2 separate regions of the Homo sapiens genome follow, and region 1 is linked to region 2. The links are contacts of gene promoters, found by promoter capture Hi-C in human tissues and cell types (Jung and others, 2019). All regions are on one chromosome and are shown on one strand. The core of a region is centred on a gene start or on the middle of the fragment in contact, and the rest is flanking DNA. Distances in the headings are between cores, read along the strand shown. Region 1 holds the start of LOC107985545 (a long non-coding RNA gene). Region 2 holds the start of SYN3 (synapsin III).

Region 1 (6,529 bases), core at 316-2,815, 430 kb after region 2:
AGCCTGCATATGTGTGTGTGTGTGTTCAGTCTGGATCTTTCTATAAGTATGGGGGTCTTGGAGTTTCCGAGCATGTCTCTGTGTGTGTCTGGGTGTCTGGATGTCTATGCATGAAAGCTTCATACTCCTACATGTGTGTATGATTGCACTTGCCCATCCATGTGTGTGGATGTCCCTCTGTGGTTAGGTTTGGGAGGTGTCTCTGTGTATCAAAGTCTCAGCTTCTGGGTGTGTCCCTGCCCAGGTAGATGTGTGTCTGCATCCCTGGGTGCCAGAGAAAGATGGAAGTACAGATGTGTGGTGTGACCTGCCGTGAGTGTGCGTCAGGGTGTGTAGGTGTGCATAAGTGTAGAGGGACAGCAGAGCATTAGGGCTCACAGAAGCTGCAGCATACGTACACACTATCTTTGCAAAGCAAGTCATCTGTTTTCCTGGTTTTGTTTCTTTCCTCCCCATGGACTCTGGCCCCTCCTTGAAAACAAAGGGAGCTTAAAAAACGCAGCCCTTCCTGTGTTCCCAAATGTTCAGAATGCTGTGGTGCACTTGAACCGTGCCAGCTCGGATGCCCAGCCCTGCCGCTGTTGCAGGAAGTTACCCGCCCGCCGCACTGCCACCCCCCACTTACACAACGACCCCGGGAGGGTGGGTGGGAGGGAAGGAGGAACCGCACAGCTCGCTACCCCTCGACGCCCCAGCCAGTGGCAGGCCCTCCATGGGAACTGAGACTCTGTGTGGGGGCATAAGAGCATCATCTGGGGGCTTCCTCCAAAGCTGGGGGTGCAGGGAGACAACACCTTTACATGGAAATTATTGCCAACCAACCAGGTGTCCAGGGACCTCATTTTCCATTTTACGAGGTCAGTTCTAGGTAGAAGTCAACATTTTCATCGTTTCAACACACATTCACCAAATACCTACTACATGATAGACGCTGTGGAAGATAAAACGACAGCTTTGTCACCCTAGGATTGGTGCCCGCACCTCCACACTCGGGGCACCCAGTGTCCTCCATAACATAAGGGGGTTAAACTGGGTAGCACCAAAGCCTCTTCCACATCAGAAATTCTGTGATTCTTTTGTGGCAAGTTCATGAGTCTGTGCTCCCACACTTCTCCCTGCTCCACCATTCCCCGGTTGGGGCAGGTCAACAGAGTCCCCATCTTTCTCAGCTCTGCCCAAGTGCTCATTCCTTTCCCGCCTTCCTTCCTCCCCTCTGAAAAACCTACTCTCGGTCCTTGTTTACTCAAAGCTGTAAATTCCTAATGAACTCTTCTCTCTTTGTCTACACTTGAACAGGTTCCCTGCCTTACTCTAACCCCACTTTCTACCAGGACGATCAGAGCCCTCCCAGAAATGACCGCAGCCCATCTTTGCCACCTTAGGTCCCACATCATCCCTAACATCTCAGCACACATTGTTGTCAGGTTTGGGAGGTGTACAGAAGTCTCAGCTTCTGAGTGTGCCCCTGCCCAGAGAGATGCGTGTGTGTCCCTGGGTGCAGAGGAGGGTGGCAGGAAAGATGTGTGGTGTGTCCTGCCTGTGAGTGCTGGCCAAGCTGTGTTGCACAAGAGGCACCCTCAGCACAGTCTCCTCCCAAGCCCAGCCTCTTCTCAAGCCATTCCCTCTGCCTACTGGGAACACCCTTTCCTCCCTCTACCCCCAACCATTTCCTTTCACGGTCATTTCAAGGTCCATCTCAAACACCTCCTCCTTCCTTAAGCTTTTCCTGATTCCTCCTTCCTTAAGCCTTTCCTGATTCCTCCTTCCCCACCCAGTAGACGTGAGCTCTGTCTGATTTGAAACCTTTCCTGTGATGCAGAATATTTGGCCTTGACTTACGGTTATCGATATCTTTATCTGTTGTGCACAAGAAGACTTAGATCCTTAAGACTAAGCATCCAAAAATGTGTCTTGCTCTTGCTTGAATCCTCACATGGCGTCAACATTGCAGGTGCTCAGTAAGCATCTGCACAACTCAGTCCAAAGCTCAGCCATGGAATGTCAGGAGTTGGGTAGCCTGGTTGGAGATCATGGCACTGTCAGGGGAAGAGGTGGGAAGAGCAGAAGGAAGGAGTCTTGGAAGTCACAGCCAGGTGGTCAACCAATGACTGTCCCTGTGATAAGCCTGAGACCCCAAACATCTCCCTTATCCAAAATGGCCTGAATGTGTGAAGAAAGAAGAAGGATGCTAAAGTGGTCTATTTATTCCGTCTGGACCACAACTTTTCCAAGAAACAAAAAGCAAGGCCGTGTCATGTACTGAGATAACTCTGGGCTGGGGATGGCAAACTTGGGTGCCTTCAGGCCAGCAAAGGACCAAAGCCAGCTGGGAGAAAGGGGTGGTTGGTGACAAACTAGAGCATCTGTCCCATTTATAGGGAGCTGGTCTTGCCTGCAGAAACGTGGCACATGGATGGCTGGATCTAACCATTGTTCCAAAAAGCCCCATATCCACAGTTTTGTATGAAATCCCTCACTTTCTAAGTGTGGGCAATCTATTCCATTAGAAAGAAAAATCAACAACACTGGGTGGTCCCAGTGAAATCCGTCCACATTCAGCCTGTGGGCTGCCAGACTGAGGTTCCTACCTAGGTGCATGCCAGGTTATGGAGTGACATGACTGTGACGGGCTCCCTGCTGAAGCTAATTCTAAAATCCACCCAACTAGAGAAAGTGCTGGGTATGCCAATAAACCAACCCTGGGCATAGAAAGGCAGCGGGCAAGTGATAGGAGAAGGTTTAGAATGTCTTCATGGTCTCTGAAGCCAGGATCTTTGTGTGCCTTGAGAATCATGACCTAGAGGGTAGGCAGAAGGCTTAGGTCAGTCACCAGCTTATTTGACTTGAGCAAGTGACATCCTCTTTCTGAGCTGCAGAGTCTCCTTGTACAATTAGCGGGCAGGACTAGAATACCCCTGAGATGCCTTTCAGCCTCTGGCAAGGAAATGCTAACCGGTGACTGTGCAAGGAATGGGTCCCACCGTGGCAGGAGAGAATTCCTGTTGGCAGGGCCCAGACCTGGGAACTTTAGATGTGGACCTTGCCTCTTTCCACATGGCAGTGCCTTCCAGCAGGTGCCCAGCGACCAAAGGCCCAGCCCAAGTTCTCACAGCTCCACTCCGATCCTGGAGTCATCGCCGAAATCTTTATCCATGGGTGTGGTGCAGGGCACCAACAATCAGAGTACTGTTGGACAGGTCCCTACAGGTGTTAGATGGTAGGAGTTATGGAGAGGTGGCCCAGGGGAGAAGCCAGTACAGCTAAGGTGGCAGGAAGTCTTCCCGGTAAATGACTACCAATGAGATGAAAGTATTTCAATAGCCTGACAATGGGTATGACCGGGCAGGTGTGTATCCACCGACCATCAGTTCAGCCCTCCTCAGAATGCTGCTCATCCTGGGGACTGCAAGGCAGACCCAGATGCTGGCAACAGGTTTGAAAGTGACCCCCCACCCAGCCTCTGGGGACTTCCCCAGCAAGCCCAATTCACTCCAGAGCCCCCAACCCAGGCCTCCCTGGGCATTGGCAGAGAACAGGCACCGTTCCAAACCCTGACTTCATGCTGACCACCAAATCCCCAAGCCAGGGAGGGAGCGATGATGTCACTGTCCCCATGTTTCAGAAAAGCAATAACCGGACTCGGAAGAGGATCAGTTTTCAAGGCAGAAGTCCAAACAGTTGATCTTGGCAAGGGCCTCCGAGGATTGCCTCATAGAAGGAGAGGGCTGGCATGCTTGTGAGCATCGTTTGTTATGAGCTGGGAGGCAGCGGTGTCCTTGGACTCAGGAGAACCTTGGGGACCCTGTCAAGATGGAGAATGTCGAATCTGAAACAAATGGGCATTGGTGTCCTCGATTCCCGTCAGAACCCTCTTTTATGGTGGGAGGGGACACCTCGGCACTCACAGAGAAGCGTTTTTCCGACAGAGTTCAGCCACCCCACCCTGGACCCAAGTCCCCTCTTATTATTAGAAAAATGCCATCAGTTTCCTCAATTTGAATAAGTCCTATGAAGATGGAGTTTTGTTCACCACTGTATCCACAACATCTCATACAGAGTTAAAGAAATCAATAAATATTGGCTGAATGAATGGCAAGGAGAGGAATGGAGTGGGAAGTGGCACGTCTGGATTCCAGGGATCCAGGAGCATATCCAGGTTTGCCAGCTAGGCCTGCAGGCCAGGCAGGGCAGGCAGGTTGGGGTTATGGGAAGACCGCCATTGATTGCTGGAAGTGCACAATACATATTTTCAAAAACTTGGCCAGGCATAGTGGCTCATACCTGTAATCCCAGTGCTTTGGGAGGCCGAGATGGGAGGATCACTTGAGCTCAGGGGTTCAAGGCCAGCCTGAGCAACATAATGAGACCCCATCACTACAAAAAATAAAACATAAAATAGTAGCCAGCTGTGATGGCATGCATCTGTAGTCCCTTGGCCTACTACGGAGACCAAGGCAGGAGGATCACTTGAGCCCAGGAGTTTAAGACTGAAGTGAGTAATGATCATGCCCCAGCTGTCCAGCCTGAACAACAGAGTGAGATCTTGTCTCCATTGAAAAAAAAACTATGACAAAAAAAAAAGCAAAAACTATCCTTTGACAATCTGTGACAACTTTCTCTCCCTGGGGTTCACAATCTCACTTTCATGCTCCTTCCATTAAAGTCTGATCCCTTTTTTAAATAGCTGTTTGGCTAATCTGTTGTGGTAGACACTGTTGAAAAGGCCCCACTTTCGGAAAATGTGTTCAGGAGGAACAAGTCTCCCTCGCCCCTCCCTCCCCTAAACTACACTTCTGCTGTGCTCTCAAATGAGCTCAGTCACATCTCTGTCCCTGAGCATGTCATGTCCCCTCCCTGGGCTTCAGTTTCCCCTTCTACATAAAACACAAGCTAAACTAGAAACATCCTGTGTCCTTAACTTGTAGGAAGAGTGTCTCAGCCCCCTTTAAGAAAACGAAGCTTGAAGCCTCTCCCTGCAAAAATCCAATTCCTCACTAGTACAGAGAAACTTTTTTTTTTTTTTTTTTTTGCATCCGATTTCTGGAGATCCACAGCCCCTTTGCAGCTCAACAAGGGAACCCAGGGTCAGAGTCTTTTGGACTTGCTAATCTGGAAGCCCCTCCCAGCTCTGACTTTCTGGAATGTTAACCGAAGTGTGGCTGTGAGAAAACACATTCCAGCTGCTCTCCTCTGAGGCCAGCGCTGGGCCTCCCCCTCAGCTGCCCCTCAGGAAGGAAGCAGCCCTGGGCTTCACTAATGGCCCCAAATTCAGCCCCCAGTTTCCTCAAGACCCAGGTCCCAAATCAATAAAGGTAGGCTCCATGGAAATGAGGCAGGATGCAGAAGGAAATCCAGGCAGCTCGACCTCAAAGGAATTTCCTTTTCCTTGCCTCTCCTTCCAGTTCTGTCTTTCAAGAGTTTGATAGAGGTGGGAACGGGGATTTGAGAATTTTCTTTTCAACTGAGGCCCAGAGGAGGAGGTGGAGATGGGCCACAAGATAGAGAGGTCAGGGTTGGGGAGACAGGGCAGCGGACAGTGATGAATGTGGGTGGGGCCTTTGTGCATTCTCCAGGACAAAGTGGACTTTTCCAGTCGGCTGGTTTTCGAAAGCTATTTACGAAGCTGGACTAATCCAGCCCAGCTGTGCGGACTGTAAGCAAACAGGGCCTTTTGTGGGGTTCAGATTCCCCACCCCTAGCCTGTACTTACAGAGCTCACTCCACCCTTCCTGTAGGGGAGGAAATGAGGTGCCCAGGTCAAGCAGAAGAGTTATATCAGGAGTTATACCTATCTGTCACCATCCTCAGCCCCACCTCTGGGGACCCAGCAAGGCTCACCTGGGCATTGGGATGGACACATAGATCTGAGTCAGGAGGCCTGCTCTTCCACTTCTTAGCTGGGTGAACGTGAGTGAGTCTCTTAATTTCTCTGAGCCTCAGTTTTCCCCTCTGTGAAATGGCCATATTACCTAACTTCGAAATGCTGCAGGCAGCGCTTAACAGAGGAGATTCCATAATGTCTTTCTCCCTCTCTCTGAAATAGAGATTAGCACATAGGGAGACCTTGGGTGAGGTAGGTAAAAGGCACCCCCTGTAAGGGAAATTTGGGAAAGGCAGCACTCGCTTCAGGCCGAGAAGCAGTTCCCAGCACCAGGTGCATTGCTTGGCAAGATCTGCCTTTTCTCACCCCCAAGCCCAGGGCTCCTGTGCAGACCAGCACCCACACAGCACATGTAAACAGCAGTCACAAAATCCAAGCTGTCCTGCCCACCCTCCATCTGAGATGGTTTTTCTTTTAGAGCCCCAGTCTTTCAGTGAATCATTATCCCCTCTAAAATGCCTAATAAGGGGTAAAATTGGAGCATACGTTCCTGGTTCATTCCTGAAGTCACTGGGGTGATGAGATCATGAAGTCACAGGTCAGCGAGGCCCCTAAAATGGAAAAAAAAAAAAAAAAGGCAAAAGTTACCAGGACCAGCTTTACCTGGCCCTCAGCGTGGTTCTAGCCTGCCTGACCCTCCTAAAGCTG
Region 2 (6,248 bases), core at 449-2,948:
TTAGAGTCACTCCCTCTTAGTTACTGAGATCATGTACTAACGCTCATGCAGTAAGTGGAAGATGCTGGGTAAGAACCTTCCCGATCTTGGAAATAGTACCATTACTCCACAGTGGCTCAAGCTAAACACCTAGGAGATTTTCTTCTTTCATCCCTTTACGTCAACCCCTGTCATAGTCTATTTTGTGCCAATATAACAGAATATCACAGACTGGGTAATTTATAAGGAACAACAATTTATTTAGCTCATGGCTCTGGAGGCTGGGAAGTCCAAGATTGAGGGGCTGCATCTGGTAAGGGCCTTCATGCTGAGTCACCCCATGGCACAAGGCAGAACAAGAGAGCAGCAGAGGGGTGGGGAGAGGGCCACTCCTGGCATTAATGGAATCACCTCTTAAAGGTCCCACCTCTCAACACTGTTGCATTGGGGATTAAGTTTCCAAGATATGAACTTTGGGGAACATATTTAAACCATAGCATCCCCTAAATCCAGCCTAATCCATCATCAAGCCTTCCTGTGCTACTTTTGACACACATTGCAGGAGGTCCACCTTTTCCGTATCTTGCTGTCACCACCCTGGTCTTCATCACCATAATCTCTTGCCTGAATTGTTCCCTCCAGATTGATATGACAAAGCCCTGACCCTCACGGTGGCCTACAAGGTTCTGGGTGATGGTGATTCCACACTAGTCTACCTCTCTGGCTGTAACCCACTCTCCCCTTGCTCACCTCACTCAGCCACCCTGGGGGCCAGTTCCAGCTTCAGAACCATGCATCGGCCGACCCCTCTGTCAGCAATGCTCTTGCTTCAGCCCTGGAATCGTTTTTGTCCTCCAAGTATCCAATATCACAAGCGGCCCGGAGACCACCCTAGGTATAGCAGTCCTAGACCCCTTTCTTTTTCTTTTCTTTTTTTTGGAGACGGCATCTAGCTCTGTTGCCCAGGCTGGAGTGCAGTGGCTCTAACTCGGCTTACTGTAACTTCCACCTCCCGGGTCCAAGCAATTCTGCCTCAGCCTCCCGAGTAGCTAGGACTACAGGTGAGGGCCACCATGCCCAGCTAATTTTTGTATTTTTAGTAGAGACGGGGTTTTATCATCTTGGCCAGGCTGGTCTTGAACTCCCGACCTCGTGATTCACCTGCCTCGGCCTCCCAAAGTGCTGGGATTACAGGCGTGAGCCACAGGCACCCAGCCGACATTCTCTTGTTTTTTTCGTTTGTTGTATATAACCTACCCCCACCTCCACCCCATGCAAAGTCCACGAGGACGATAGACTTTGTCTTGTTCCCTGTTGCATCCTGGCCCTAGGGCCTAGCCCACAACCTGGGACATTTCCTGACAAGGGGCCCTGGTTTCTCTGAGGTGCCACCTGAGGTCCGGGAGGTCAGCTGACTTTCCCAAAGGTGGATTCCAAGGACACTGCATTCTTCGCACTCCCCGAGGGGCGTCTAGACACTCCTGGGACCCAGAATTATTAGCTAACTGGGCTCCTGAGTCCGGTGAGAGCTCAGAGTCTAGAAGCAACTTTCCCTGCCTGGAGAGGTGAACCCAGCAAGGCGTTGGGGAGAGGCGTGGGCGAGGGAGTGGGCGCGGGTGGGCGGGGCCGTCCGGGGGCCTCGTTGCCCGAGCCAATGGGGCGCCGCGGCGCGGGGAGGCCGGGCCGCCGGGCGGGGGCGCTCGCGCGCGTTGAGGGGCAGAGGCTGAGCTCCCGGGACCCGGAGCGGATCGACTGGCGGGCGCCGCGCCGAGGCACCACCGGGCGCCGAGTTCCTGGCGGCTCGCACGGTAAGCGGCGCGGCGCCGCAAAGTAGACTTTGTGGGGTTTCTGACAGCCGGGAGACCCCACCTCGAGCGGGGGCTGCTGGTGCGTTCTCGCGTCGGGCTGCGTCCCCTGGAGCTCCGGCTCTGTGTCCGCGGGATGCGGGCGCACGGAGGGGCAGGGAGGGAGGCAAGGAGCCGCGCACCACGGTGTCTCCCCAGGCTGCCGCTGCCGGGGCCCTGGGCCGGTCCCTGGGACAGACAGATCGGCGTGCGGGGGCCGTCTGCCGGGCCCGGGAGCCGGGGGCGCGCAAGACTGTGGATCCTAAGACTGCCTCCACCCAGCGCCCGGCCCGGGGAAGAGCTTGCGGGAAACCAGGAACCGCAGCGGCCGGACCTCTGCTCTGCGCCGGCTCCTAGGACCTGCCTTAGGTCCCCAGACCCCTCATGACCTGTTGCCTTGGGTTTGGGAGGTCAGGTTTGTCATGCCATTTCCGATTTCCAGTCATCCTGGGGGCAGGATGAAATTTCAGAGTGGTTTCCTGGCCAAGCTAGAAGCAGAGAATAGCTATGGATACAGCACCTCGTGTATCTATCCAGCACTTACTTGGCTTTTTCTGAGTGCCAGGAACTGTGCCAAGCCCTAGCAGCATGAAGAATGGCCTTTGGGGAGCTTCTGGGGCTAAGAGGGACAGTAGGAGGAGCAATTGCAGTGCAGGGTAGTGCGGAAGACTCGAGATGGAGAAGAGGACGGTGAGGAAGCCAGGAAGGTTTCAGAGAGGAGGTGAGCATTGACTGGAAGTCGGAGGTTTTGCCAGGCTGAAAAGTGTGTTGGGACTGTGAGTTGATAGGGAGCAGGAATTCCAGGTGGGTTTTCTTGTGTAAAGGTAAAGAAACTGAAAAGGTCCGGTGTCCTGACCTAGCACATCAGATAATTCTACAGCAGATAATGGAGTAGGACCGGGTCTTGCTGTAGGTAGGAAATGAGCTCTCGACATGGCAGGAAGCTAAAACCTGCACAGACCTTAAAGTGCAGCCTTAGAATATTTAGAATTTTATCCTGGAATGAAGGAGGGCCGTGGAAGAATTCTGATCAGTGATCAGGTCCCTCTGGCAGCTCTGGGGACAATGGATGGAGGCCGGAGCATCAGAAAGCTGGTAAGTTGTAGTTGTTTTCTGGTCCTTGGCTGCAAATACTCTTCCCTGCTTAAGGGAGCCCCCTCTGCCCGGGAGCCCTGCTCCCTGGCTTCTGGACATGGATTCAGGCAAAGAGATGCTGCCCGTGTAATGCTTGCTTCTGCAGCCTGCACATCATTTTGATATTGTTTCTGGAGCCTGTGACCTCAGTCTTGTCATCAGGCCTCTGAAGGGTGCCTCTGCTCTTCTTTTCTCATCTTCAAGCCCTCTGTGTGCCCTTCCCCTCTGCCTGGGCTCCCCTTTCTGTTTCACAGAGATCCAGTCTCAGCCATTGGAGGCAAGGCTGTGTGTAGATTGGTGTAGTAGAAAGAACAAGGGCTCGCTGGGAAATCAGACCAGAAAGTCACTTTAGCCATAGGCTTTGGGGACATTAGCAACCTTCATGAACCTTCTTTTTCTGATTTAAAAGGAAATCATTGTACTCACCTGTCATGGTTTGGGTTCCCTGGAAAAAGACTTGGCGCTTCTGAGATTTTTGTGCAGATAAGGGAAGCAGAACTGGGCAGAGGGAGATGTTGATCTATGGTGCAGTGCAAGAGAGGTCTCAATCCCTCCCATGAGACAAAGAGACGAGGCCTTTGAAGCTTAATGTTGATCAGCCAGTGGGTGCAGGCTGGTCCTAGGGAGGGAGCTAGGATGTCCCTTCAGCAGGACAGTTCCTGACTAGGGACTCACCTGGGAGCTGGGGTAACCAACACTCTGGCAGCTGGACATGGGGAAGTCATGAGTGTCTTGGTCTTGGAGGGGGAGTTGAGCATTTCCCCACGGTATCCACTACACTACCTCACAAATGAAGTAGTGCTTTGTACTGTGCCTGGTGCATAGTAGATATCTTAAAAGTATTCATTTCTCTCACCTTTAAGTTTCATGACTGCACCTGAAAATGAGTTTTGGAATTCGAGTTGAGTCAGCTTTTGTGAGGAGCTTTTAATAATAATAGCCACGAAGACTACTGCTTCCCTTTTTTGAGTGTCTATTATGTATATACATTCTCTTCTAGTTGTCCAATAATACTCCAACTTAGGTACTTTTATTCTCATTTTATAGTAAACCCAGTCTCTTCCAAAACCCAACCAAGTTGATGTTCTTTTGCCACAAAATAATAATTATAATAATAACAATCACTCACAACTCTATGATTTGTTACACTTTCCAAAGTGCTTTCATTGGTGGATTGATTGATTAATCATTCATTCATCCACTAATTAATCAATCAATGTGTATTGAGTGTCTCTTAAGGAGTAGGCGCTATCCTAGGTGATGGGGAGAAAGCTCAGTCTATTAGAGGAGATAGACATTAAATGCTTGGATTCATCAAAAGCAAGTGTTGAGGGGTGGAACATTGCATTGCATAGCCAGTATGTGATAGAGAATAACAGGCTCTTTGTCCAATTGACTCCTTGCCTTCAGTTTCAATATAACCTTCTTGGAAAGGCCTTCTGTACTCCCTCCCTTTTATTCTCCCTTCGTAACAGTCATTTATCTATTTTATTTACTTTCCTATTGTTGGTCCTCCCCTTTAGACTGCAGACTCCAGGGGATCATACATTGCTTCATCCCAAGAGCCTACCACAGGGTTTAGCACATATTTCTTAAATGAGTGAAATGAATGAAGGGTGGATGTGCTTAACAGTGTAGTCAGGGAAGGTCTCCCAAAGTAGTGATATTTACACTGAGATCTGGGGAATGAGAAAGATCCGGCAACGCCAAGATCAAGAGGCAGAGAGAACAGCTTATTCAAAGACCGCGAGGTGGAGGAATGGAGGCTATTGTGGTTGGAGCGCATAGTGGGCAAATTGTGTGGAGTGGCCCGAGATGAGTTTGAAGGCAGTGGAGTCTTGGAGGCCATGCTGAGCTTACATTTTTATCTAAAGTGCAACAAACGAATCATTGAAGGATTTTAAGCCTGATGTGATAGTGTATATTTGTGTGTTGTCTGTTATGCCTCTGGGAGGAGAACTCCTTGAAGAAAGGTGCTTAGTAAATAGTGCTTAAATGAATGGATGATCTGGTTTATGTTTTAAAAGGAGTCAATCTCAGCTTCCAGGTGAGAAGTGGAATAGAGAGAAGAAAGATCTTGTCACAGTTGGAAGCTCAGTGAGATATATATTGGTGTCTGGGCTAGAGGACAGCAATAGTGTTGGAGAAAAGTAAAAGGGTTTGAGCTCTATTTAGGAAGCAAAATGGACAGGACTTGCTGATACTTTAAATGCAGGGAATATGGGAAAAGGGTGGGGATGAAGGATGGTGGCCAGCCTTATGGTTTCAGATTGGTTGGCTACTGAAAGTCTGGCAGCTCCATCAGTAAGTGACTGAATAAACAAAATGTAGTATAACATACAATAGAATGTTACTCAGCCATAACAAGGAGTGAAGTACTAATACATGCTGCAATGTGGATGAACCTTAAAAATGCTATGTGAAAACGTGGTTTAAAAGCCAGACACAAAAGGTTACATAGTGTATGATTCCCTTTATGTGAAGCATCCAGAATAGGTCAATCCATAGAGACAGAAAACAGATTGGTGTTTGTGCTGATCTGAGGGGGAAGTGGGACTGGGGCTTGACTGCTTAATGGCTAAGTGGTTTCCTTTTGAGGTGATGAAAATGTTTTGGAACTAGATAGAGGCGACAGTTTGTACATCATCATGAGGATAGTAAATGCCACGCATTGTTAGTTTAAAATGGCTAGCTTTTAGTTATGTAAATTTCACCTAATTAAAAAAACAAACAAACAAAAGTTGGGTGGATGGGAGCACTATTCACATAACAGAGACTAGGCGAGGAGCAGGTTGTGCTTAGAGGATACAATTCAAATACCCTCTTGGAGATGCCCGTAAAACATCCACATAGAGACAGGAATTGGCTGTGAGTCTGGAGTCGAGGAGGGGAGTCTGGGCTGGAGATATAAATATGGCAGTTGTCAGCACTTAGATGTCAGCCAATAAAATGGATGAGTTCGAGTGTGAGAGAGAGAGGAGGAGAAAATCAGAGCTTTGGATCATTCTTTAATTTGATCTTTATAACTATTCATAGGAGATGCGATTGTCCTCATTTTTAGATAAGGACACCAACCCCCTCTCCCGTGTCCAAACGAACTTGCCCAAAATCAGTTCGTTCCTGTGAGTCTCCAGACTTCCAATCCTTTGTCTTTCCCATCTCAGTGTGATGCCATTTAGAACTTCGGCAAACACTTTCTCTCCCAAATCTTTTGGTCATGATTGAGTATTCACACGTGGCAGGCACTGTCCAGGTTTATGTTAGTGGAGAAAGTAGACATGGCTCTAATCT

What was found. The method cuts DNA at HindIII sites, captures the fragments that hold promoters and counts their contacts. A contact is called where the count stands out against the background at its distance.
Region 1: a contact is called between a fragment that was not itself captured here and the fragment with the promoter of SYN3 in region 2, in 2 of the 25 tissues and cell types used here (H1 embryonic stem cells and small bowel).

The regions. Positions count from the first base shown.
Region 1 is chr22:32,621,226-32,627,754 of GRCh38, reverse strand. All of the region lies in intron 6 of SYN3 (synapsin III), which reads left to right. It overlaps LOC107985545 (a long non-coding RNA gene), which reads right to left and starts at 6,227. Exons shown (of 3, transcript XR_001755504.2): 1 at 5,839-6,227; 2 at 1,840-3,802. The HindIII fragment of the contact is 3,550 bases long and covers 1-3,340 here.
Region 2 is chr22:33,053,831-33,060,078 of GRCh38, reverse strand. SYN3 (synapsin III) reads left to right here and starts at 1,698. Exons shown (of 14, transcript NM_003490.4): 1 at 1,698-1,787. RefSeq lists an enhancer at 5,260-5,952. The HindIII fragment of the contact is 13,516 bases long and covers 1-6,248 here.